Linked DNA regions of Homo sapiens: all the other regions are linked to region 3. Evidence: promoter capture Hi-C in 16 types of primary human blood cells and fetal thymus (Javierre and others, 2016). All regions are on one chromosome and are shown on one strand. The core of a region is centred on a gene start or on the middle of the fragment in contact, and the rest is flanking DNA. Distances in the headings are between cores, read along the strand shown. Region 1 holds the start of ZFYVE16 (zinc finger FYVE-type containing 16). Region 2 holds the start of SPZ1 (spermatogenic leucine zipper 1). Region 3 holds the start of CMYA5 (cardiomyopathy associated 5).

What was found. The method cuts DNA at HindIII sites, captures the fragments that hold promoters and counts their contacts. A CHiCAGO score of 5 or more calls a contact.
Region 1: the fragment with the promoter of ZFYVE16 here is called in contact with the fragment with the promoter of CMYA5 in region 3 in 1 of 17 cell types (monocytes); the score reaches 6.0 in monocytes.
Region 2: a contact is called between the fragment with the promoter of SPZ1 here and the fragment with the promoter of CMYA5 in region 3, in 6 of 17 cell types (M1 macrophages, total CD8 T cells, naive CD4 T cells and 3 more). The highest score is 7.3, in M1 macrophages.

The regions. Positions count from the first base shown.
Region 1 is chr5:80,405,966-80,409,445 of GRCh38, forward strand. It overlaps ZFYVE16 (zinc finger FYVE-type containing 16), which reads left to right and starts at 2,099. Exons shown (of 19, transcript NM_001284236.3): 1 at 2,099-2,188. RefSeq lists an enhancer at 2,061-2,859 and a silencer at 2,580-2,699. The HindIII fragment of the contact is 4,043 bases long and covers 1-3,275 here.
Region 2 is chr5:80,318,315-80,321,435 of GRCh38, forward strand. It overlaps SPZ1 (spermatogenic leucine zipper 1), which reads left to right and starts at 1,688. Exons shown (of 1, transcript NM_032567.4): 1 at 1,688-3,121. The coding sequence starts at 1,902. The HindIII fragment of the contact is 2,056 bases long and covers 1,057-3,112 here.
Region 3 is chr5:79,688,160-79,691,247 of GRCh38, forward strand. CMYA5 (cardiomyopathy associated 5) reads left to right here and starts at 1,677. Exons shown (of 13, transcript NM_153610.5): 1 at 1,677-1,897. The coding sequence starts at 1,749. TENT2 (terminal nucleotidyltransferase 2) reads left to right here. Exons shown (of 15, transcript NM_001114394.3): 15 at 1-87. RefSeq lists an enhancer at 1,187-1,688. The HindIII fragment of the contact is 6,464 bases long and covers 1-3,088 here.

The DNA of each region.
Region 1 (3,480 bases), core at 849-3,348, 720 kb after region 3:
TATTAATGACTTTGAATATTGATTGGTAAAATGTGTAGTAGGCATTTAAATTTCATATTTTGTGAACTGACCATTGTATATACTTTCCCCATTGATCTATTTAAGGTGTTTGTGTCTTTTTTCTATTCTCTTTACCCTCACACTTTACCGTATAAATACTTCTGTCCCCAGTATGCATTTGTATATGTGAGTCTCTGCTACTAGACTGTGGTTCCCCATGGGCAGTGGCCCCATTTTATTTTATCTGTGAACAATGCCTAACACATAGTAGGAAAAAGGCATACTGTAGTTTGTAGAATTATTCTTAGGATTAAATGAGATAACGTAAGCAAAGCATCTAACACACTGTCACAAAGCAGATGCTCAATACACACATTACTTTAGGCAATCAAAAGTTTGGCTATTTCATTTTGTTGTTTAGGAAAACCAAGGTTAAAGATTAAGTATCTTTCAAAGATCAGGAACTATAGTTGTAAACTGCAGATTTAAGATGCGAACCCTGATTCTCAAATCTTTCATCACAAATCACATGTGGCTGGAATACTCGAAAAATTATAATTCTTGCAATTTTTTTTTTTTCTTTTTTGAGACGGAGCCTTGCTCTGTCACCCAGGCTGGAGTGTGGTGGCTCGATCTTGGCTCACTGTGACCTCTGCCTCCTGGGTTCATTCAATGGTCCTGATTGTCCTGCCTCAGCCTCCCAAGTAGCTGGGATTACAGGCGCCCGCCACCACACCCAGCTAATTTTTGTATTTTTAGTAGAGACGGAGTTTCACCATGTTGGCCAGATTGGTCTCGAACTCCTGACTTCAGGTGATCCGCCTGCCTCGGCCTCCCAAAGTGCTGGGGTTACAGGCGTGAGCCACTGCGCCCGGCCAATTCTTGCGATTTTTGAAAGATCAGTATGAACTGTGAGCTGTTTAACCTTTGAGGAACTGCTTTTTCCCTGTATCTGTCTGTATCTGATCCCACATGTATGTCTCTTCCCTTGTTTTTATTTTTTATTTTTTTAGAGACACGGTCTGGTTCTGTTGCTCAGGCTGGAATGCAGTGTTGCCATCAGAGCTCACTGCAGCCTTGACCTCCTGGGCTTAAGTGATCCTCCCACTTCAGACTCCCAGCCAGTAGCTGGGACTACAGGCACGCGCCAACACGCCTGGCTAATTTTTTCATTTTCATTTTTAGTAGAGACAGGGTCTTGCTATGTTGCCCAGGCCTGTCTGGAACTCTTGACTTCAAGCGATCCTCCCGCCTCGGCCTCCCAAAGTGCTGGGATGACAGGCGTGAGCCACCGCGCCGGGTCTCATTTAAATTTATAGGAAACTTGTGGTAAAAATAGCAAAACTCAACAAGCAAATATACATCAAGTGAGTGACATTTTATTTCTACATCAGATAAGTCAGCTTTTGCTTTTAGACAGGGAGACAGCTGTTCTACCAGCTGCTTTAAAATAAAAATGCAGAACTAACGCAGCGAAGGGAAGGAAAGTGTGGCTGGGAATGTCCAGTCAGCTGGAGGGGCTTGGAGCTCGGCGTTGGCTGGGAGCATTTTTATTGCTGCCGGGAGGAGGAAGGGGAAGCGGGGGAAGCGGGGGAGGCGGGGGGGCAGCGTGTTGTAAAATCAGTTTGAAGTAAACAAAAAGTTATGTTTTCCGAGGGGCCAGCAGCGCGGAGAGCAGGCCTAGCCCGCTGCCGGGAAGGCGGGTCTGTCCAGTAGAGACCGGAACGCCGCGCAGGCTCAGCAAAGGGCTAAGGCTGGAGCCGGGGAAGCTGCCTCTAGGTTAGCGAAGGGTAAAGGAAGTCAGACACTGACGCGAGTGGCCTCCCGATCCCGCAGTCGAGTGGAGAACCGAGTCCCGACCTAAGGTCGAATCATCAGGCGTCCCCGTCACCCAACAACCCACTCAGGCACTTCCGGTAAGAAATCTAGTGCCCTTGGCTCGGAACCTGCGTCGTAGTGCGCAAGCGCCCCGGGCCTGGAGACGGCCGCGGATGCCGAGGGAGGGGGCGTGTGAGCCGAAGAGGAAAGCGTCCTCTGCGCCTGCGCTCTCTGCGCTGCCCGGTGGGGCGGGGAAAGAAGCCCTGAGCCGGGATCTGGCACTCCCAGGACTCCCGGCCGGGGTAGCTCTTCACTCCTCAGCGCGACGTCGTGTCGAGTTCCCAAAAAGCTCCGCAGGGGCTGTAGGGAGGTAAGAGCCCCCCGTGACCGGTCGTCTCGGCCTCCCCTCAGCCCTGCTGTTCCCACAGGGGGGCGGGGTGACCGCTGGACCCGCCGACCTGGGCGCTGGGTCTGGCCCTCTTCCTCTGGGGACAGAGCCTGGGCCCCGACCGATTCCTTTTCCGAGCCCCCGGAGCTGGCCGGGGAACCCTGGCCCTCCAATCTGATGTCCCCTCCTGGAGCCTGAAGGGCCAGACCGGACTGGACCGGGAGGGCAATCACGGCGGCTGTTTGCCCGGTTCCCCGCTCCCGGGCCGCCGGAGTGTTCGGCGCTCCTGGGGGAGAGACCCCAGCGGACGGAGGGAGAAGCGCCCTGGCGCCGCCGTCCCGCCTGGGGAGGGGCTGCGACTGCGGAGGGGACTGTGGTTCTTCAGGAGTGGCAGAGGCTCGGTCCCCGCAGAGGAGTCTCATCGCCGCCGGTGCTCTCGCACTGTCCATTCCCGCACCCATGCATTTTCTCTTGGTTAGAGACCAGAAGGATGCAGTGGCCGTCTTTCCCGCTGCCTTTCCTTTGGTACTTTTGAGAACTCCAAAAGAGGACCTTATTTTTAACTCTTATTTGTACTATCGTGATTGCAAATATTATGTTCCAGACTAAGGATGTTCTTTCTTATTAGTTTGACTTGTATGAAAACCAGTCCATACATTTGATATTAAGTTAATCTTTTCAATTCAAAAAATAGGCACTTTGTTGATTCAATCAGATTCCTCCATTTATTCACTTGAGCTTGTCGTCTCTTGAGTTGGCGGGAGTTTAATGGTTTAATCCAGTAGAACTATATATAATTTTTCGCCTAATTTCTTCCTTTTTTTCCTCTCCTGGATATTAAACCGCATGCTTAGTGGCAAAAATTGAAAAAATAGAATAAAGAATAAGGAAAAATGATCAATCATAATTCCACCATGTAATAGTAATCAATTACTTATAATATTTTGACTTTTTTCCTTTGAGTCTTTTTTTCCCCTGTGCATTTTCTTGAGATGAGATTTTATATCGTTGGATTGTCTGCTTTCCTTGATTTAAATTACGTTGTAAGCATTTCCCCATGTTTTTAAAAAGCTTCATAAAAATGACTTCTTGATTATACATGAGCAAAGTATCTTTTGAAACAGTTATATTACAGATAAAGCCAAATCCGCATTAATTATCCTCAATCATAATGTTACATGATAGAATAGTGCTACAGTTCATTTAACATTATGATTGGGGATAATTACGCTTAAAAATTATTGAGGACCAATAGAGTTTTTGGTTCCTAATGC
Region 2 (3,121 bases), core at 438-2,937, 630 kb after region 3:
AAGTAAAAGCAGAGACCAACCCTGCTGTATCTGTGAGTAGTCAGTGACGATGGCCTGGAGCCCAGCTGGCTGAAAGATGAGCATGAGGCTCTGGGGAATTAGAGCCAAAATGAGTTGGTAACTGGAGAAGAAAGAAAACATATAAATTTCTCTTCTCTAGGGGAAAAAAAACCTGAGTATGAGTTTTCCCTTAAGACTGGAAGCAAATTTCTATTAAAGTGCTTGCTAGCAAGATTTTGAAGGCCAGGAAAAAGTCATACACAAGAAATGTTTCTTTGATTGAGTTCTATATTCACAAGACCTGACTCCTAAGAACAAAAAGACAAGAAAGCAGCTTATTAAAATGCAAGAAGTTTAATAAACTTGTTACTTTCTATAACCCACTAGAGAATTTACCTGTTTCAAATGCTTTTTATTTTTTAATTTTTAATTTCTTTTTTTGAGGCAGTGTCTTGTTCTGTCACCCAGGCTGGAGTGCACTGGCACGATCTCAGCTCACTGCAACCTCCTCCTCCTGGGTTCAAGCAAGTCTCATGCCTCAGCCTTCTGAGTAGCTGGGATTACAGGTGTGTGCTGCCATGCCCAGCTAATTTTTGCATTTTTAGTAGAGATGGGGTTTTGTCATGTTGCCCAGGCTGATCCTGAACTCCTGGCCTCAAGTGATCTGCCCGCCTTAGCCTCCCAAAGTGCTGGGATTACAGGCATGAGCCACTGCACCTGGCCAATTTTTTAATTTTTTGTGATAGATCTTGCTGTGTTGCCCAAACTGGAGTGCACTAAGTAGCACAGTCATGGCTCACTGCAGCCTCAACCTCCCAGGCTCAAGTGATCCTCTCGCCTCAGCCTCCCAAGTAGCTGGGACCACAGGCACACACTACCATGCCCTTCTAATCAAACACTTTAGAAATATAACTATGTCATTTTAACAAGTTACTGTGTAGAGTGTGGAAATCTTAGGGGATCAATAAAAGAGCCAAAAAAAAAATCCCCAAATAAGTTACTGTGAAAAGTAATAGTCAAAGTTTTCTATCACCTGATGTAAATGATTTGTGAGTAAGCTTGCCAAGCCTGTCTTAAAGGATGCCTATATTCAAAGCCAAGAAAAGTCCCAGTTTGTAATTGTGTTGCTATTATAACCATTCAGATAGTCCCTTCTTGGAGCAGTAGAATATTTTTGAATGGAGGGACTCCTGACATTACTTTCCTAAAATCACAAAAGGCTGTCACTCTCAGGGTTTTGTTTTGTGTGGATAACTTTCTCTTACAGTCACATCTCTCCTAGAATGGGAGCAATAGAGCCTCTAGGTGCTATGAAAGGATGGGGACCTCACCAGAGAGGACTGGTCTCAGCAATGTCCTTAAGTGGTCAAAACATGCTGCGGTTGAGGTCAGGATTGTGAGGGGATAGAGGTGACGTAGAGAAGTAACTGAGTGCATTTAGACTGAGATGAATAGCAACCTAGAAATTAAGGAGGGGAAGAGCTATTGTAGAGCTCTTTCTGGCATGAGGAGTAGGGATAGCTCAAGGTTGGTTTTGATGCAGGAGTCACTGGGCAGGAATTTAAGAGGCTTCCATTGTGACACAAAGGAGACAGACACTATGGATAGGCCACAATGGTGCAGTGACAAAATAAAGACCTGGTTGCTAGGGCCAGAGAATAAACACCGGGTGCCTAGAGGAGAAGAGATGGAGCCCCAGCCTTGGTCCCCTTTCCCACCCTTCCTCCCCACAAGGCTGTCTGAGATGCCACCTTCCACCTAAACATCATCTCCCAAATTTTAATCCTTAACTTTGGTCTCTGACTTCTGCTTGATTCCACAGTCTCCACCCACATTTGCACAAAGGACCATCACCTGTCCTTCCTGGAATCTCTAAAGTTTTCTGCTTTCCTTCTGTCCTGATGGCCAGCTCTGCTAAGTCAGCTGAGATGCCCACCATCTCCAAAACCGTTAACCCTACTCCTGATCCTCATCAAGAATATCTGGACCCTAGGATTACCATTGCCTTATTCGAAATTGGATCACATTCCCCTTCCTCCTGGGGCTCTCTCCCTTTCCTAAAGAATAGCAGCCATCAAGTTACAGAACAACAGACTGCACAGAAGTTTAACAATCTCTTAAAAGAAATTAAAGATATTCTTAAAAATATGGCAGGTTTTGAAGAGAAGATCACAGAAGCAAAAGAACTTTTTGAGGAAACCAATATTACTGAGGATGTGTCAGCCCACAAAGAAAATATCAGAGGACTTGACAAAATCAATGAAATGTTATCAACAAACCTGCCTGTTAGTTTAGCCCCAGAGAAAGAAGACAATGAAAAGAAACAGGAGATGATATTGGAAACCAATATTACTGAGGATGTGTCAGCCCACAAAGAAAATATCAGAGGACTTGACAAAATCAATGAAATGTTATCAACAAACCTGCCTGTTAGTTTAGCCCCAGAGAAAGAAGACAATGAAAAGAAACAGCAGATGATAATGGAAAACCAGAACTCTGAGAACACCGCACAAGTTTTTGCAAGAGATTTGGTAAATCGTTTAGAAGAAAAAAAAGTCCTTAACGAAACTCAACAAAGTCAGGAAAAAGCAAAAAACAGACTTAATGTTCAAGAAGAAACTATGAAAATTAGGAACAACATGGAGCAGTTACTACAGGAAGCAGAACACTGGAGTAAACAACATACTGAGCTCAGTAAACTGATAAAATCCTATCAGAAATCTCAGAAAGACATAAGTGAAACTCTTGGAAATAATGGAGTCGGTTTCCAAACCCAGCCAAATAATGAAGTGTCGGCTAAGCATGAGCTGGAGGAACAGGTGAAGAAACTGAGCCATGACACCTATTCATTGCAGTTGATGGCAGCTTTGCTAGAGAATGAATGCCAAATCTTACAGCAGAGAGTAGAGATTCTCAAGGAACTCCATCATCAGAAACAGGGAACTCTGCAAGAGAAGCCAATTCAGATAAACTATAAACAGGACAAGAAAAATCAGAAGCCATCAGAAGCAAAGAAAGTAGAAATGTATAAGCAGAACAAGCAAGCAATGAAGGGTACATTTTGGAAAAAAGACAGATCCTGTAGAAGCCTGGATGTTTGTCTTAATAAGAAAGCTTGCAA
Region 3 (3,088 bases), core at 427-2,926:
GTGAATAATCCCCAGCTTACAGTCATATTTAACAACTCTGTGACTTGCTATAATTAAAAATAAATGTTAACTCTTCTAGCCATCAAATCATTCTCATGAAATGAATATCTTTATTGTAAAGTTACCTCCATTTGTACATAGCAGTTCTGGTTCTGTTCTCTTCAGGGAGCATCCATTATATGTACCTGCTATGTGCTAGCTACTTTGCTAGTGTGTAGGCTTGTAAGAGATGGGGATGATGGGACAAAGAAGAGTAGTAAACTTACGAAGTCTGCTGGGGAAGGAGATACAAACATAATTTGAATATAGGATTATGTGGGAACCTGGAAGAGAGGTACTGAGTTTAACTTTGGGATTTCAGTGAAAGGTGGTGATCTTGAATGATGGGTATCCTGGTAAAAATGGGACCAACCTTTGAGGCAGAAGGAATTGTGTTAATAAAGACACAGTGGAGTGACTTGACAATGTTGGGAACTCCTGACTTCTAAAGACACCTGACCAGCTGGGCGTGGGGGCTCACACCTGTAATTCCAGAACTTTGGGAGGCTGAGGTGGGCAGATCACCTGAGGTCAGGAGTTCGAGACTAGGCTAGCCAATATGGTGAAACCCCGTCTCTACTAAAAATACAAAAATTAGCTGGGCATGGTGGTGCGCGCCTGTAGTCCCAGCTACTCGGGAGGCTGAGGCAGGAGAATCGCGTGAACCCAGGAGGTGGAAGTTGCACTGGACCGAGATCGCGCCATTGCACTCCAGTCTGGGCGACAAGAGCAAGACTCCATCTCAAAAAAAAAAAAAGAGTAGACAGGTAAAACATGGCCTGTTAGGCAACCGTTACCTTTGTGAGGGTGTTGGGGTTCAGTCTTTGAGCAGTGGGAAGCCATTGAGGGGTTTTAACCACAACTTGATCCGGGGAAAGGTTTGGGGCATTTGGGCCAGTTTCAGACAAAACTTAGCTTTTTGCTAACGTGGGGGAAATTGCTCCTCCTCAAGGTTTAAGATGAGTGGAGATAAAGTTTCCTGGCTCAATAACAGGGACCACTGAGCAAGAAAATACACAGTATATTGACTTGCGATATAAAGAGAGCCGGGACGGAACACTGGTTCAAAACTGGGCTTTTGAGCAGGGCACGCCTAGCTTTGTTTCTCATTGGGTCATTTTACTAGCAATGACAGCCTGAGCTGCTGGAGCTCTTCGGAGTCTCAGTTTCCTCATCTGGGAAACCAGCACTACAGTAAAACCTTCTACAGGTACCACCACAGAATCGAGGTAATGAAAGCGAGACCCTTAGCAGAGTGCCTGGTAGTTAAGTGCCCAGCTCAGGGTATTGTTTGGGATAAAGGGTCCAGAAAGTAGCTCAGCTCAAAACCGAAAAGACTCACTCTGGAGGAAATAAGAGACGGGGCTAGGTTGCCTTTCCTCCTTTGAACCCCCTGGTGCAGCCGGAGCCCGCGCCCCTTAAAGTGATCTCCAGTTGTCCGAAAGGCCCGCCAGGGATCTGGCGAAACGGGGGCGGGGGAGGGCTCAGGGAAGAGGAGAAGCTGAGCCCGGGCCCCAGAAGCTCGGTGGCGAAACTTTGACGCCTTCTATTTAAAGTCGCGGGGCTCGCCCGCCCCCGGCGCCGGGAACCCGAGCCGCCCCCGCAGGGGCAGGGCTGGGGAGGGCAGGGGCCAGAGCAGTCGGAGGGAGAACACCAGGCGCGGCGCGGGCGGCTCCGGCTCCGGCCCCGGCCCAGGCCCGGGAGAGGCGATGGCGAGCCGCGATAGCAACCACGCTGGCGAGAGCTTTCTCGGCTCCGACGGGGACGAGGAGGCGACCCGGGAGCTGGAGACCGAGGAGGAGTCGGAGGGCGAGGAGGACGAGACGGCGGCGGAGTCGGAGGAGGAGCCGGACTCCAGGTAGCGCGAGCCTCTCTCCTCGGCCCAGGGCCTGCAGGGCAGCTAGCAGCACCCTTGCTTGTTTGCTTTAAGTTTTTAAGCTCTGGGGTTCGTTTGCCTCGAGCTAGGCACTTTCTCTCTGGGTGCACTGTCGTTTAAAAGAACTTGAAGGTGAAGGTGCTCGCTGTCAGCTGGAGTGACAGGCCCGCCTGCAGCAGAGTTCATTACCCCCGCCCCCAGCTCCTTGTGACTCGCTGCTCTTGTTTATTCCTGAGGATTTACTTAGGTCCTGCATAACTGCCGAAATGTGCTGGAACACGTACATCTGGCCCGAGGCACAGGAACAATCGCGAAATCCTGCGCTAGAGGAGAAGGGGGTGGGGTGGAGGCGGTGAAGGCGCACTGGTACCTTCCGATGAATGGCGGTCTCCCCGGGGGCCTAGCAGTAGGCTAGGCTGCAATAAGGTGACCTTATTTTGATACAAAGGCCCATAAATTCTTTGGGGGAAAAGAAGCATGAGTTTCAGTAATCCCTGTTCTTCAAGTCCTGGTCCCAAATCCCAAATATCAGTTTCCGTGAATGCGATGAAGTAATACTATGTACAAAAGATGCACCTCCCACCCTTCGATCTCCCACCCTCCGTCCCTTTAAGAAGGCCCTAAAATGAGAATAATAGAAATCATCTAATGTCTATTTGGATTAGCTTCTACCTTCACTTGTTTTCCTTGAGTATGAGTTTTGGGTTTTTTCCTGACTGTGTGTCAGTCAGTGATGTCTCTTCCTCAGTCTGTTCATAACAGTAGAAAGGCTTTGAAGGTGGCAGGTGGGTGTGTACCATCTCAGAACGCCCAGCTTACCTAATCAAAGCCAGCAGAGCCGATGTTGAAGAAGTAGCCCATAGAGGGGCATTGAGGAGGATGGATGGTCAGACAAGAAGTCCTGAATGTATGTCACCTGTTTATCAAACAGCTGCCAAGTGGGAAGCAAGCACAGTCCCTGGCCTCAAGGACCTTGTGGAAAAAGTTTCCCTAACTTTTTCCCCTATGGGGAAACGTTTCCCTAACATGGGGAGTGTGAGACTATATAGAGGTGGAAGGGAGGACTATGGGTACTGTGCAAGGGCAGAAGAGGGAGTGTTGGGCTGGAGCTGCCTTGAAGTAGTGGGCAGGGACTACAAACAGGAAGAGCAGAGGAGAAGGCACCTGTAGGAA